Linked DNA regions of Homo sapiens: region 2 is linked to region 1. The links are contacts of gene promoters, found by promoter capture Hi-C in human tissues and cell types (Jung and others, 2019). All regions are on one chromosome and are shown on one strand. The core of a region is centred on a gene start or on the middle of the fragment in contact, and the rest is flanking DNA. Distances in the headings are between cores, read along the strand shown. Region 1 holds the start of GRID2 (glutamate ionotropic receptor delta type subunit 2). Region 2 overlaps GRID2 (glutamate ionotropic receptor delta type subunit 2).

The links. Contacts are between HindIII fragments. The study calls those that stand out against the background at their distance.
Region 2: a fragment that was not itself captured here is called in contact with the fragment with the promoter of GRID2 in region 1 in 1 of the 25 tissues and cell types used here (dorsolateral prefrontal cortex).

Annotation. Positions count from the first base shown.
Region 1 is chr4:92,302,408-92,305,365 of GRCh38, reverse strand. GRID2 (glutamate ionotropic receptor delta type subunit 2) reads right to left here and starts at 1,400. Exons shown (of 16, transcript NM_001510.4): 1 at 622-1,400. The coding sequence starts at 709. The HindIII fragment of the contact is 11,112 bases long and covers 1-2,151 here.
Region 2 is chr4:93,182,099-93,185,165 of GRCh38, reverse strand. The region is part of intron 4 of GRID2 (glutamate ionotropic receptor delta type subunit 2); the gene reads right to left. Among named protein-coding and RNA genes, the nearest start is that of ATOH1, 650 kb to the left of the region's middle. The HindIII fragment of the contact is 5,008 bases long and covers 1-3,067 here.

The sequences.
Region 1 (2,958 bases), core at 151-2,650:
CCGCCAGCCCCTCCTGCCACCGTCTCAAAGACTACACGCAAGGATCATAAAGCCAAGAAGATGTGAGAAGAGAGGGTGGCTGGGGGCGCATCCGGCACCCCCGTCACCATCGCACTAAGCTGCGGCGAACTCAGCCGGCTCACGTTGCAAAACCACCTGTTCGATCCGAAGGGAGCTCCCCCTACCCCCCAGCCCAGTTCTTTTCATCTCACAGGTGACAGCTTCTCTGCTCCCCCAAAGATAAATTTTTAAATGGAGCAAATGTACATCCGGGAAAAAAAATATGGAAGATAAGAGTCAATTAAACTCCCTTTCCCCACACACTTAGAATCCCCCTGCAGTTCCCAGCACACACTCACACTCAGGTCAACTCGAGACCCCCACGCATCCAGCCACATTCCACGAATCACTGCAAAACAACAGCACAAGTCAGTCGAGGTTCGAGCATCCACATCCTTTCAGAAAACTGAGCAAGTGTGAGGGAAGGGTAGCGGGAAGGGGCAATGAACTGAAGCCACCTCCAACAAGACACACAGAGACCGGAGAGGGGGAAAGCGAAGGGGAAACATTTGAGAACTGAAACGGTAAAAGTAACCACGAGCTGCACCAACACTTTCTTACCGATGTGAATGATCGAATCCGCATTCGCCGAGTCCCAGGTTCGAGACCACCAGACGGACAAAACCAAGAGAAAGGGGAAAACTTCCATCTCCTCCTATGCCGATTCTCTTGGAGGATGGATTTTCTTCCAATTTTTTTTTTTTCAAACAGTCCAAAGAGTTTGAGGTCACGGTGGAGTTTAGCGCAGCTTTTTCTTTTTTTCTAAATTCCTATTGCCAGAGCAAAGCCTTTTATCGTCGCCGAGAAAGGCAGAAGGGAATGACAGAAAGAGCCCAGCCTGAGGAAACCTCCTTCGCAAAGCCGTGTCACTTGGAGGGGAATTTTGGCATCGCCAGAGTTGTTTGCAGTTTGGCTTTTGAAAAATATATCCAGCCTCTACTGCTCTTGGGCAGGGGGAGAGGCTGGGGCTCAGATCAGACCCATCGCTGCGCGGGGGCCGCGGGTCTCCGGTCCCAGCTCCGCTGCAACTTCCAACACCCCCCTCACGCCGGATGTGCCCCCTTCCCCGCACCCTCTCGGACCAAAAAAGACCCCCGCCCCCGCCCCTACAGCCCGCAGAGAATCACTGGTCTTCGCTGCCAGAATCTAAGTGGAAAGGAAAGATTAGGAGATTCCAAACGGAGCAGCCAGATTCCACCAGGGAGGGGGGAAAAAAGCCCTCTCCAAGAGGGGTAGAAAAAGTGAACTTCAAGGTAATGCAGATAGTAATGCAGAGAAAATTCCCTTTCTGCGTGAGGCGCGGAACGCAGCTTGGCGAGGCGGGCCCGGGGAGCCGGTTTGCTGGGGCGCGGTGGCGGGGGGGTTGCGCCGGGCGCGAGCAGCGGGGCCGGGCCAGAGGAGGGAAGCCGCCGCAGGCTGCAGGATGCTTTTGGAGCGTTTCGCCTGGCGGGATGCAGGAAGCAAGGAGCGAGCCTGGCAGCTTCAGCACCAGCCCCACGTTGCCTAGAAATGGATCACCTAGGAGAAGGAGCGAGCCTGCGAGAGAGCGGTGCTGTCAGGCGGAGAGAGGGGGAAACCAAGAGAGGAAGAGCTTCTCTCTAATAACCACCTCCTCCCCCTATCTGCAATACAAGGGAGAAACAAAATAGTGCTCTCATTTCCCATGGAATCTTCAACCGGGACTGAGAAAAAGGCAGGACTGTAAAAAGACATTGAAGCTTTTTTTTTCCTTTCTTTATTTTACGAGGTTAAATGCAACCTAAAAAAGCCACCCCACTTATTTAACCTTGCTATTCTCTAACAGGTATCAGACTTTTTCTAGTCTTTGCCTGGAATTAGTCACATTGGTTGAAAACAAATTAGGGACACCTGGTCACTTAGGGAAATACAGACCTAGAAAGCTTTTAATGAGATTTCAATTATAAAGTTATAAAAAGGAGAGAACGTGCTAATTACCTTTTATACAATGATTTTTTTTTTCTGTCTCCAGTGTATTTTTTAGGCAATCAGGATAGAGAAAGGTTCCTGAAATCCTTTCTATTGATAGAAATTCTTCTCTATCAGGATAGAAAAGATCTTGAAATTAAAATAAAAAAGCAGAATAATTAAATAAAACAGAAAAATTTTTCATAAACATTTGGTCAAAATATTTCATTGAGTAGCTTAATAACCTATGTAGATAAATTCCGAATGAGGAAGTTGGGTACTCTCTTCCATGGAAAAAGCTGAGGAAGTCCTGAATGACAGCCTCTCAGTCTCCAGTGAAAGGATTTTCTGCAAGCTTATTCCTTAAGATAAAATCCTGATCATTGTGACTTCTTTTCTTATAATGATTGACTTATGTCAATCTGGCCTCATTGCAAACTGAAGATTTGTTAACACAATCGAGTGACTAGTCGAGGTCAGGTATTAATGTCATAATATTGTCTCAGTTATAATTGGAATTCTTTAGGAATGTTGGATGTGTGGATGTCAAGCTCATTACACAACCTTTCAAAGCCTTACCTCCAAGTTTGGCAAACCTCTTTTCCTCCCGTTCCCTCACTTGAGCCCTTCTCTCTAGCCTTCTGAATTGGGTTACTATTTTTCCAGACACAGTTGTACATTCTCACTTCTGGCTGTTTTCATTCATCTTGTACACTTTTTCCTGAACATTCCAGAAAATGTTTTGCTGCCATATTTTTACTTATGTTAATATTTCTGCTTGGAAAGCACGTATTTGTCCTCCCAACCACTCTCCTTCACCATCTCAAGGGCTAGTTCAAATTCCTTTTGCCCATGAAGTAGTGTCCAGTCCTTTAATGTGGAATAAATCCATCTATCTTCTATGCTGTCGTAACACACCCTATTTTGTATTAGAGTTAGACAGAACTACTACTAAGTTAGATCATAAATGCC
Region 2 (3,067 bases), core at 537-3,036, 880 kb before region 1:
AAATACAGAGATATAAAAATTCACTGAAGTTAAAGGATAAGTCAATCAAATACATCTTTTCTTCAGACATACTTTACCTACCATAACTATCTAAAAATATTTTCTTAACACTAACTAATAATCCTAACCATTTTCAAAATGACTCTCCTAACCCTGTAGTTATTCAAGTTGAATGAATACTGAATTACTCATGGTAGAACTTGTGTCTTTCAGGCACATTATAGTAACTACAAATAAGTACCTGGGAGAGTGGATATTGTTATTTTGTTTTTTGTGTTTTTTTTCAGACAGAGTCTTGCTCTGTTGCCCAGGCTGGAGTGCAGAGGTGCAATCTTGGCTGACCACAACTTCTGCCTCTAGGGTTCAAGTGATTCTCCTGTCTCAGCCTCCTGAGTATCTGCGATTACAGGCACACGCCACCACGCCCAGCTAATTTTTGTATTTTTTGTAGAGATGGGGTTTCACTGTGTTGGCCAGGCTGGTCTCGAACTCCTGACCTCTTGATCCGCCCACCTTGGACTCCCAAAGTGCTGGGATTACAGGCGTGAGCCACTGCACCCGGCCAGAGACCTGATATTTTTAAGAACTTGTTCAGCTGTAGGGACTTGAGAAATATATGAAAGAGTACCTGTGAGTTTTTTTTTTTTTTTTTTTTTTTGAGAAATAATATGGCTAAAGTGAACTAATCCTGTTGGTTGCAGAGGAGAGGAGCAGAATGATCACTTACATGAAGAAAGATAATGCATATACAAAATTAGAGCCAAAAGAAGCAGGCACTTCAAAACCTTGACTGAATGTACACGGACACAGGCAGTAAATACACCACTTAAGTAAAGCTAAGTGGCACTGTTCACCACTCCCCTTTCGTTGTTAAAATGTGTGCCTTCATGCATAGCTAGAGCCAAGCAAAGCCATTCTACATCATTTATTTGGCAACTAAATGTGCTGAGCTGATTTTTGCCACTCTACTGGAACCTGCCTTTCTTGTTCCTGACTACACATTTCTGTTTAACAGTTTTTCCCATCTGGAATACATTTACTTCTTTCCTTTATCCAAGCTACAAACCATTTTCTTTCAATGAAGATCTGTGTTGAACTTTTACTGGGAAGGCTTCACTTCCTCATCCACAGTTACTGCTCCTTTTCTAATCGCCCTACAGCAAATAATGTGCATCATTCATTTAGGCATTTATTGTATTCCTCTAAGACTTGCTGCTGATTTTTTATATAAGAACTGATATAGTGTAAGGTACAGTGGACACTTAAAAATCAGTTTTGATTTTAAATTTTACCTCCCTTGTTTCTTACCTGATGAGTTTGAACAAGTTCTCAGCATCTCTCAAACTATTGTTTCCTTATTTGTAATCTGGGAATGAAGCCAACTTCCCTGAGTGGTAACATGGATTTACTGATATAGTTTATTTCTCCTGCTCTATTCAGTGCCTGGCACATGATGGTATGAGAAAAATGTGTGGCCCTTTTCCTTTTCTTTACTTTTAATTCCAGGCCACATTATAGAATCCTGGAGAACAGAATTGCCCTACATTGCCTTGTATCCTGTTCAATGTCTGGCAGTAATTAAGTACCTTGTGGGCACTTACTAAGTAGTTGTTTGAATGAATGTATCAGTTGGGTGCCATGAAGAATCCCTAATGGACCCTCTATTGAGTGCTGTTAGTAGCTACAGGGACTCTTTAGATGTAGTAGAACAAATTCATCACACGTGAAACATCTATTGATTGAGGGTCAATGCTATCATTTTTGAGTATTGAAGAAAACATGGTTATGTCTTTACAGGGGGATAATAAAATCATTATTTTAAACTCATGACATTCTGTTTAGTATTATCTTCAATTTAATAAGCTTGACAGACATGGATAAAAGGTAAAAAGACTGTCAAACATTTTGTGAAGTTAGAGTTTTTTAAAAAATTTTACCCAAATGGATCACCTCATTTTTTTTTAATTAGTAAACTGGAAATCAGTGAAAATTGAGATATTATGTGTTTATGTAGTTCTGCCTCAGGCAACTAAATTTTAGGAATTTCTGGTTCCTTATATCAGGCACCTGATTTACTTTATTTTACTCATTTTGATTTAATTCTGCTCAGTTGATGAATAAAAGAACCTGTGAATGCCAGATATTATCCTAAGGCCAGTATAGTCTTTCTCAAACTTTATACTGCATCAGAAACACCTGCGGGGCTTCGCAAACATAAATTGTAGGGCGCCACTCCCAGAACTTCTGATTCAGTAGGTCTGGGCTGGTGCCCAAGAATTTGCTTTCTAACACTTTGCCAGGTGATGCTGATTCAGGGAACACACTCTGAAAACTACTGCACTGGAGAAGAAAAAGACAAAATCAAGGTTCCTTCTCTAGAGAGGATTAGAGTTTTTATTAGGCTTTGGCAACAATTCTAAAGTGATAAATTGTTTATAAGGACGGTGATGTCTGGGTGTAGAATCTTGAAGTTTCTGATAATTCAAATATTTGAAGATCCAGATTTGAGCAGCCATGTCTTCAGAACAATAAGGAAACTTGAAAAATATGCCTGTAGGCATGTTTTAAAAACTATTTTGACTTCTGATAATGTAGCATTATCTTTAAACCACTATTTCTACATAACTGAAGTAGAGAGAAAGTTAAATCTAATATTAATTAGGAGTTGCCTATATGACTATTTTTGATCACTCTCTTCTAATTTGATCAGTTATACATTTGAATTGATAATGCAGTCTATTTTAAAGATAATAGAATATAGTTTGCCTAAGTAAGAATCTTTTCACACATAAAAATCACACATTTAGAGTTCTAAATTCATTTTTTTAAGTTAATGGAGTATGTATAGAGGTATAACATCATTAGATATTTTCAGAAAAAAAGCTGTTAAAGTGATCTACACAATGAGTTCAACTAAAAAATAGATTTTGACAATTTAAGAGGAAATTAAATAGGCCTGCATGAGGTAGTTTAAGGAATCTACCATTTAGATTAGATTTGGAGAAGACCATTATCAGATATACTTCATTTTAAACACTAAAAATGTAATTTTTACATTGAAGTTTAA